Linked DNA regions of Homo sapiens: regions 2 and 3 are each linked to region 1. The links are contacts of gene promoters, found by promoter capture Hi-C in human tissues and cell types (Jung and others, 2019). All regions are on one chromosome and are shown on one strand. The core of a region is centred on a gene start or on the middle of the fragment in contact, and the rest is flanking DNA. Distances in the headings are between cores, read along the strand shown.

Region 1 (2,779 bases), core at 207-2,706:
ATTTTGAAACATGGACAAGCCAAGGTCAGGAATAAGGAATAAGACCATTCCTCTGACAGACAACACAGTGATTGAGAAGCACCTGGGGAAGTTTGGTGTCGTTTGCTTGGAAGACCTCAGTCATGAAATTGCCGTCCCAGGGAAGCATTTCCAGGAGGTCTCATGGTTGTTACGCCCTTTCTACCTCTCAGTGGCCCGTCATGCTACCAAAAATACAGTGGGCTTCCTCAAGGAGATGGGCACACCTGGCTATCAGGGTGAACGCATCAGTCAGCTCATCCGCCAGCTGAACTAGACCCAGGTGCCAAACTGCAGTAAATTTTTATTAATGAAGTGGAAGCATGGGTAGTAGAAGCATGTGTTTTTGTTTTTTTGGGAATTTTTATCAAGTATCTTCAGAGAAGATTATTTCCAGCTTTATCTTCAAAAACTGGAAAGGAAGGGTCAAAGAAAAGACAGAAGCTCACGCCTGTAATCCCAGCACTTTGGGAGGCCGAGGCGGGTAGATCACTTGAGATCAGGAGTTCGAGACCAGCCTGGCCAACATAGTGAAACGCTGTCTCTACTAAAAATACAAAAATTAGCCGGGCATGGTGGCGTGCACCTGTAGTCCCAGCTACTTGGGAGGCTGAGGCAGGAGAATCACTTGAACCCGGGAGGCAGAGGTTGCAGTGAGCCAAGATCACGCCACTGCACTCCAGCCTGGGCAACAGAGCAAGACTCTCTCTCAAAAAAAAAAAAAAAAAAAAAAAGAAGGAGAAGAAACAGTAGCTTATGTTCATGGCAAGCACCTCTAATCACAGTCCAGTTTCCAAGGAAAAATTCCAGCGTTTTAGTTTAATGTCGGTAAGTGAGTAACTCTAGCATTTGTACAAGGCTCCCTAAGACTCCTGCACCAGTCGGCCAAGCCCAGGGACATAATTGAATTTGGAGATTCTTGGGGCCTTGTTTTGAAAAAGACTTGAAATAGGAAGAAAGGCCCAAAAATAAATGTTCACTTGTCTCTGAAAAAAAAAAATCTGTCTCAAAAAAAAAAAAAAGAGAGACTTAGGGGGGTCTAGGGGGCCTTCCCTGCTATCACCCCAGCACTGCCTAGGTGTTCTACCGGGAGAAGGGGGCCATCGAGCAGGGAGTTCTTACAGTTTTCTGAGACTTTCATGACCGTACCCCTTGAGAGTGTTGTAGGCAATATCCACTCCCCACCTACACACACACAAATTTTGCACCAAATTTTGGGGACTCTCGAAACCCAAGAACCCGGGTGATGGGACCCTAATCCCGACACTCCTTTGCAGCGCAGAGTCTGGGAGCGCAGAGCGCGGGGGCTGCGGGGTGGGCTGAAGGTGGGCAGTACCGGGGGGCGGCGGGCGGAGCGGGGCCGGGAGGGGGCGGTGCCGGAGGGCCAGCGGTGTGGCGCGCCGCCTGCAGGGGGCGCTTGCGGCGGCTCCGGTCGGAGACAATCGCGCTGAGCGGGCGCCGCAGCGGGAGCGGGAGCCGGAGCTGCGAGGCGCGGCGCAGAGCTGGGGCTGCGCGGGGCCGGGCGAGCGGGACCAGGCGGGAGCCATGGACCGCTAGGGCCCGGCCTAGCCCCGCGATGCCGCCGGCGAGTGGCCCCAGCGTCCTCGCGCGGCTGTTGCCGCTGCTGGGGCTGCTGCTCGGCAGCGCCTCCCGGGCTCCCGGCAAGTCGCCGCCGGAGCCCCCCAGCCCGCAGGGTGAGTCTCAGCCGGGAGGGGCCGCGATCGCGGGCCTGCGCCCCCTGATCAGGCTCCCGCCCGTCAGCCCCCTCTTCGCGGCGTTCGTGAATTGAGTGGTATTCTGTTCCCTGGATTCGGGTGGGGGGAGCTAAGCGATCTGGGGTTGGCGCTTCTGGGGGAAAGTGGAGGCGGGGAGAGGGAGGCCGTCCGGGGCGGGGGTCTTGGGGAGACACAATGGGTAGTGCGAGGGTCCCCAGGATCTGCGCCGCCGCCCTCTCCCTATTTGTTTTTCTCCCTCCTGGTCCGCGAGGCGCTGCTGCCTGAGCCATTGTCTACCGAAGACACCCGCCCAGGGGCGGGCTGGGGCGGGCGCCTGCTCCGCAGCCCCCTGCGGGTTGCTCGCTCCCGACCCTGGCGGGGTGGGGGCGCCGGCATCCGCTGCCACCCTAGGCCGGGACCGGAGGCTGGGAGCCTGGAGCTGGGTTTGAAGGGGGGAGGGGAGAAGGGGGAGTGGGTGAGGCTGTGGGCGGGATTGACTGCTCTAATGGGGTTCTTTGCCCTGGAGCCTGACAGCTCCCAGCCAGCCCCCCTGGTTTAGAGTTTGGGGTGCACCAAATAAATGCTTGTGAGCCTATGATGGAGGACGAGCCGCAGTTGTGGGCCTCTAAGAAAAGGGGGTACATTGTGATTCCCAGCTGAGGGAGCATGGCAGGCTTGTGGTCGTGGAGCCATGCTGAGCTAGCTGGCTGTGGGCAGTGCCGGCTGGGAGGGCAGGTGCCTGGGTCCCCCCCCATTCAGCAGGCCTCCTGGCATTCCTGTCCCCTGCCCGCCCCCATATCACCCCCTCCTCATCTCACATCTTCGCAGTGGAGGAGACCCTTCCCAGCGACTCACCGGGCGCAGGTGGGTGTGTGAGGTGGGGGTGGGGCCGGCTCCTGCAGCAGGAAAGGGTGGGGGAGCAAGACCCTGACAACACATCCCACAGGCAGGCCTGGACGCTTGGGGGCCTCCGCCCACTCCAGTCCTGAGTCCACCTCCCGGGTCCTGCTCTCCCTCTCCTGCCTGTGGGCCCCATCCCTGCCTGA
Region 2 (2,779 bases), core at 130-2,629, 110 kb before region 1:
AATATTTTTTAAACCACTAAATTAAATGATATTTAACATATTTTAAGCCTAGAGGGCTACACTGAAATATTTTTGGAAATTTCATTCCTATGGCACATGAGGCTAATGCTATTTTACCTCTCATAATGTCCAGGACTTTTTCTGCCACATATAGCGAGAACAGTATCAGAAGGCAGTCTAATTGAGTAATCATTGTTGAATAATCTCATTCAGTGGGAGTAGAATTGATAATATGCCTTATTTATTAAGTAGTGCTACCTTCTTCACTTAAAATAGCAAATAGTATATAGTACTCAGGCTGGATATTTAATTTTTTTAAATAAATGAATGTTCAGAAATGTATATTAGTAATTACACTTCTAATGAAAATTTACTTCTGAAAGATAAATATATGCATTATTTGTGATGAGATAGTTTAGGTTGTAGGAGAGAACTTCATGGCCTACATTGTATTAGGTAGAAGTAGGGCACAGGATCTGGGAGAATAAACAAAGATGCAAGAAAAAATAAGAAAAAAAAAAAGAAGTATTGACACACAAGATAAGAGGGATCTTATTTCTGTTGCCTGATCATTTGTGAGTAAAATTTTAAGTGTTTTTCTCTTTTTTCAACTTTTTTTTTTTTTTTTTACTTTTTTTGGTCACAGAAAATTTTAAGTTTTAAGAGAAACTCCTACAGTGATTGGCATCAAAGTAGGTAGTGTTCCCTCCCTCCCACCAAACAAAAGAAGTCCCTTATCACCTGAGGAATGCCCACTAAATAATAAGTAAATATTTAATTACATGGCTGGCTGGCTATATTAAGCTGTTTTGTTTTTAGGGGAAAATGGTGTTACTTCTAACACAGAAAGAGTGCTGAATTAAAATCTTTCTCTGCAGCAATATCTATTGAGAGGTGCTGACTGTTTTGCTACAGCATGCAACTCAAAAGTGGCTGAAAATATGCAGCTTTGGGAGTCTACAGATCATTGCAGGAGCTAAAGGTCTAGTCATTTTTTTTTAACCAAAGGTAATCTGCAGCAGCTGGTAACCGTGGAGGTCTCTGCACAGGTTTGTGCCAAGAATATGCCTGTGTGAAGGGTTATTGTGAGTATAGGATTAAGGTCTTTTTATTTTGTAGTAGGCTAAATTTGATGCAAACCAGCAAGATGGGAAATGAGACATGAAGATGCAATAATGTATTATGCTTTTAGTGAACTTCCGAAGCTTAGATTTGTTAGTGAGATATTGGTATTTCAATTTTATTAGGTAAATGTTGAAAATATATCAAAATCCAGTATTTGTAAAGCATTTAATAATATTTTTTGAAGTTTAATTTTCCCTTATTTGCTTCAACCAACCAGATATCTTTCAATGAGATTTTTCCTCAAGAATGAAATATCTTTTTAAGAAAATTATATGAGAATTGCTAAACAACTTGATTATCTCTATTAAAAACAAGTTGAAAAGTGTGAACATTTTATCCCTATTACGAGAAGCTTTGAATTTGAATTTTAAAAATTGTTATTGCTTTATGAGATATTTAGGTCTCAAATGTTATAATTATAACCTCCACTTACTTAAAGACAAAATATTTACAAAACAAAGCTTGATCTAAAGCCATAGCTCCGTCTAGGATTCAATCACAGAAGAATTAATTGGTGTTTTTTAGGATACACGGTCCTTTATGACCTTTATCATAGTTAGAAGATGAGGAATTGGGCGCAGGGGCTCACGCCTGTAATCCCAGCACTTTGGGATGCTGAGGCGGGCAGATGACGAGGTCAGGAGTTCGAGAACAGCCTGACCAACATGGTGAAACCCTGTCTCTACTAAAAATACAAAAAGTAGCCAGACGTGGTGGCACATGCCTGTGCATGTGCTGGGATTACCCAGCTACTCAGGAGGCTGAGGCAGGAGGATTGCTTGAACCTGGGAGGCAGAGGTTGCAGTGAGTCGAGATCACGCCACTGTACTCCAGCCTGGGTGACAGAGCGAGACTCCGTCTCAAAAAAAAAAAAAAAAAAAAGCGCTGGGTGCAGTGGCTCACACCTATAATCCCAGCACTTTGGGAGGCCGAGGTGGGTGGATCACAGGGTCAGGAGATAGACCATTCTGGCTAACACGGTGAAACCCCATGTCTACTAAAAATACAAAACTTAGCCGGGTGTGGTGGCACACGCCTGTAGTCCCAGCTACTCAGGAGGCTGAGGCAGGAGAATCGCTTGAACCCAAGATCGTGCCACTGCACTCCAGCCTGGGTGACAGAGCGAGACTCGATCTCCAAAAACAAACAAACAAAAAAAGATGAGGGATCAGATGGGAGAATGACTTTAAGCTATATAGAAGGCAGAATGCATGCATCATAGACTTAAAACATGTTGTTACTGTTGTGGTTGGAAGTGCAACTACCCATCAGCCGCTAGTCGGTCCTTGCTCTACCTGACTGATTAAAATTCTTTCTTTATGGTTGTCAGGATGACCTAATAGGTTTAAAAATGTAGTGTAAGCTTCAAACTCCAGTTGCTGATGTTTAGTTTGCGCATCTTAAGGATTTGGAAGTATATGTATAATTGGGTTTTGTGATGTTGCATATCTGTCTAGATCTGTGGACTCCACTAGTTCCAAACTGTAATTCTTTATAAGACTGCTGATTTGACATTTAGCAGTGACCATATGTGGACTGCACTAGAAATAATGTGCTTCTTGGAGCTGAATGGTGTAGCATTACTATATGGCTTTTCTCTCTAGTCTTCATTGTGTCATCTGTAGTGAGCTATAGAGTTTTTTTGTTTCGGGAA
Region 3 (2,779 bases), core at 188-2,687, 84 kb before region 1:
TCATCCACCCGCCTCAACCTCCCAAAGTGCTGGGATTACAGGCGTGAGCCACCACGCCTAGCCCAGGAAATGATATTTTAAATATCCCCTTGCCCCATTTTTTAATGCAAATAGAATGGATCAGGGCTAGAAAAACATTCTTTTGGACCATATGAATAACAGGCTTCTAAGAAAATTACCTTCATTATAGTAAATAGGGTGGACAGTTTTTTTTTTTAAATTTATCCAAAATGTATTGGTTACACTAAAGTAGTATAGTGCTGTTTATTTTTTTTTTTTTATAGTCTTAGCCTTAGCCTAATTTACATTGTTTCCTATCTTAGTATTCATAGACTTTTGGACCTAGGTTAGTTTGCCTTATTAAAATGACACTGGGTTAGTAGGATACTTAGGCAAGAGAGTGGAGTGTCCAGGAAGCTTCTTAAGTGAGCAAAAGGGTATATAGTGATAGTGGTTTGTTTCTTCTTCTTCTTCTTCTTCTTCCTCTTCCTCTTCTTCTTCCTCTTCCTCTTCTTCTTCCTTCTTCTTCTTCCTCCTTCTTCCCCCCCCCCCCTTTTTTTTTTTTTTGGCTCACGTGATCCTCCCACCTCAGCATCCTGTGTAGCTGTAGCTGGGAATATAGGCATTTGCCACCATGTCTGGCCAATTTTTAAATTTTTTTCATAGAGACAGGGTCTCCCTATGTTGCCTAGATTGGTCTGGAACTCCAGGGCTCAAGCTGTCATCCTGCCTCAGCCTCCCAAAGTGCTGGGATTATAGGCGTGAGCCACCATACCCAGCCTGTAATACTTTGATTATTGATCATAGATAATAATTTTCTCCATCTGTAAATGGGGTTGTTTCATTACCATCAAATTGTATGTAAAACATTTGGAAATTATCACAGATTCTGTTTTAGAGTATCTTTCATTTTAAGGTATTTACTTTCAAAAATGCCAAATTTAAATTAGCCGGGCTTGGTAGTGGGCTCCTGTAATCCCAGCTACTCAGGAGGCTGAGATAGGAGAATCGCTTGAACCTGGGAGGCAGAGGTTGCAGTGAGCTGAGATCACGCCACTGTACTCCAGCTGGGGCAACAGAGTGAGTGAGACCCTGTCTCACAAACAAACACCCCCAAAATGTCTAATTTGGAAATAAAAGGAAGACTAATTTCTTTATTTTCTGAACCCTTGAGCGTTCTGCATAGTGATTTAAAGTTTACAAAATATCTTCCATTTGTTGTCTCTTTTGGTCTGTATGCCAGTCCTAAAAAGGGGGATGGGGTAGGTGTGGTGTGATGGCTTATGCCTGTAGCCCTAGCTACTTGGGAGGTTAAGGCAGGAGGATTGCTTGAGCCCAGGAGTTTGAGGCTGCAAGTGAGCTATGATTGTGTGACTGCACTCTAATCTCCAGCCTGAGCCATAGAGCTAGAACCTGTCTTAAAAAAAAAAAAAAAAAGGTGGTGATAATATTTTCATTTTGCAGAGGAGGCTGCTGAGACTCAGGCTCTGCTTGCCAAAAGTCACACAAGTGTCTAGCTATTATCTCTTATTGGAGAGCTAAGCTTTGCAGCCCAGTCTTTTTTAGGGATTGCCTAGAAAAATATAGGAAGAAGTTTATTGGCTGGGTGCGGTGGCTCACACCTGTAATCCCAGCACTTTGGGAGGCTGAGGCGGGCAGATCACGAGGTCAGGAATTCAAGACCAGCCTGGCCAATATAGTGAAACCCTGTCTCTACTAAAAATACAAAAATTAGCCAGGCATGGTGGCACGTGCCTGTAGTCCCAGCTATTCAGGAGGCTGACTGAGGCAGGAGAATTGCTTGAACCCAGGAGGTAGAGGTTGCAGTGAGCCAAGAGTGTGCCACTGTACTCCAGCTTGGGCAACAGAGTGAGACTGTCTTAAAAAAAAAAAAATTTTTTTTTATTAAACATGAAATGGAGGCCAGGTGCGGTGGATCACACCTGTAATCCCAGCACTTTGGGAGGCCAAGGCGGGCAGATCACTTGAGGTCAGGAGTTCGAGACCAGCTTGGCCAACATGGTGAAACCCCATCTCTACTAAAACACAAAGAAATTAGCTGGGCATGGTGATGCATGCCTGTAATCCCAGCTACTCAGGAGACTGAGGCAGGAGAGTCACTTGAACCTGCGAGGCGGAGGTTGCAGTGAGCCAAGATTGTGACACTGTGCTCCAGCCTGGGTGACAGAGTGAGACTCAGTCTTTAAGGAAAAAAAAATAGATGAAATGGAGGAGTTGCAGTGGAAAGTTAAATGAGGCTGGAAAGTTTTGGGGTAATGGAGTGATCCTGGAATAGTAAAATTTTCAGTGTAGCTATGGAAAAACAATAGTAAGTTTAAGAAGGCATTTGATTGTTGGCTTATTATAGTATCACAAGACTGGCTGCTGTCTACATAATCCCCCCAGATATTTTCTACTCAAATATTTTCCACTCTTCAAACTTTAGAATTGTGAAGTGAACCTTATAGATTTGTCTAACTCCTTTATTTTTAAGACAGAGTCTCACTCTGTCGCCCAGGCTGGAGTGCAGTGGTGTGAACTCGGCTTCACTGCAAGCTCCACCTCCCGGGTTCACACCATTCTCCTGTGTCAGCCTCCCGAGTAGCTGGGACTACAGGCGCCTGCCACACGCCTGGCTAATTTTTTGTGTTTTTAGTAGAGACTGGGTTTCGCCGTGTTAGCCAGGATGGTCTCGATCTGCTGACCTCGTGATCTGCCCGCCTCGGCCTCCCAAAGTGCTGGGATTACAGGCGTGAGCCACTGCGCCTGGCCTTTAACT

Evidence for each region. Contacts are between HindIII fragments. The study calls those that stand out against the background at their distance.
Region 2: a fragment that was not itself captured here is called in contact with the fragment with the promoter of FAM171A2 in region 1 in 6 of the 25 tissues and cell types used here (IMR-90 fibroblasts, dorsolateral prefrontal cortex, heart left ventricle and 3 more).
Region 3: a fragment that was not itself captured here is called in contact with the fragment with the promoter of FAM171A2 in region 1 in 2 of the 25 tissues and cell types used here (heart right atrium and mesenchymal stem cells).

Annotation. Positions count from the first base shown.
Region 1 is chr17:44,362,530-44,365,308 of GRCh38, reverse strand. It overlaps FAM171A2 (family with sequence similarity 171 member A2), which reads left to right and starts at 1,456. Exons shown (of 8, transcript NM_198475.3): 1 at 1,456-1,712. The coding sequence starts at 1,595. It also overlaps the pseudogene RPL7L1P5. RefSeq lists a silencer at 1,365-1,744. The HindIII fragment of the contact is 16,504 bases long and covers 1-2,779 here.
Region 2 is chr17:44,469,723-44,472,501 of GRCh38, reverse strand. All of the region lies in intron 2 of GPATCH8 (G-patch domain containing 8), which reads left to right. Among named protein-coding and RNA genes, the nearest start is that of GPATCH8, 32 kb to the left of the region's middle. The HindIII fragment of the contact is 3,729 bases long and covers 1-2,779 here.
Region 3 is chr17:44,446,278-44,449,056 of GRCh38, reverse strand. The region is part of intron 3 of GPATCH8 (G-patch domain containing 8); the gene reads left to right. Among named protein-coding and RNA genes, the nearest start is that of GPATCH8, 56 kb to the left of the region's middle. The HindIII fragment of the contact is 4,364 bases long and covers 1-2,779 here.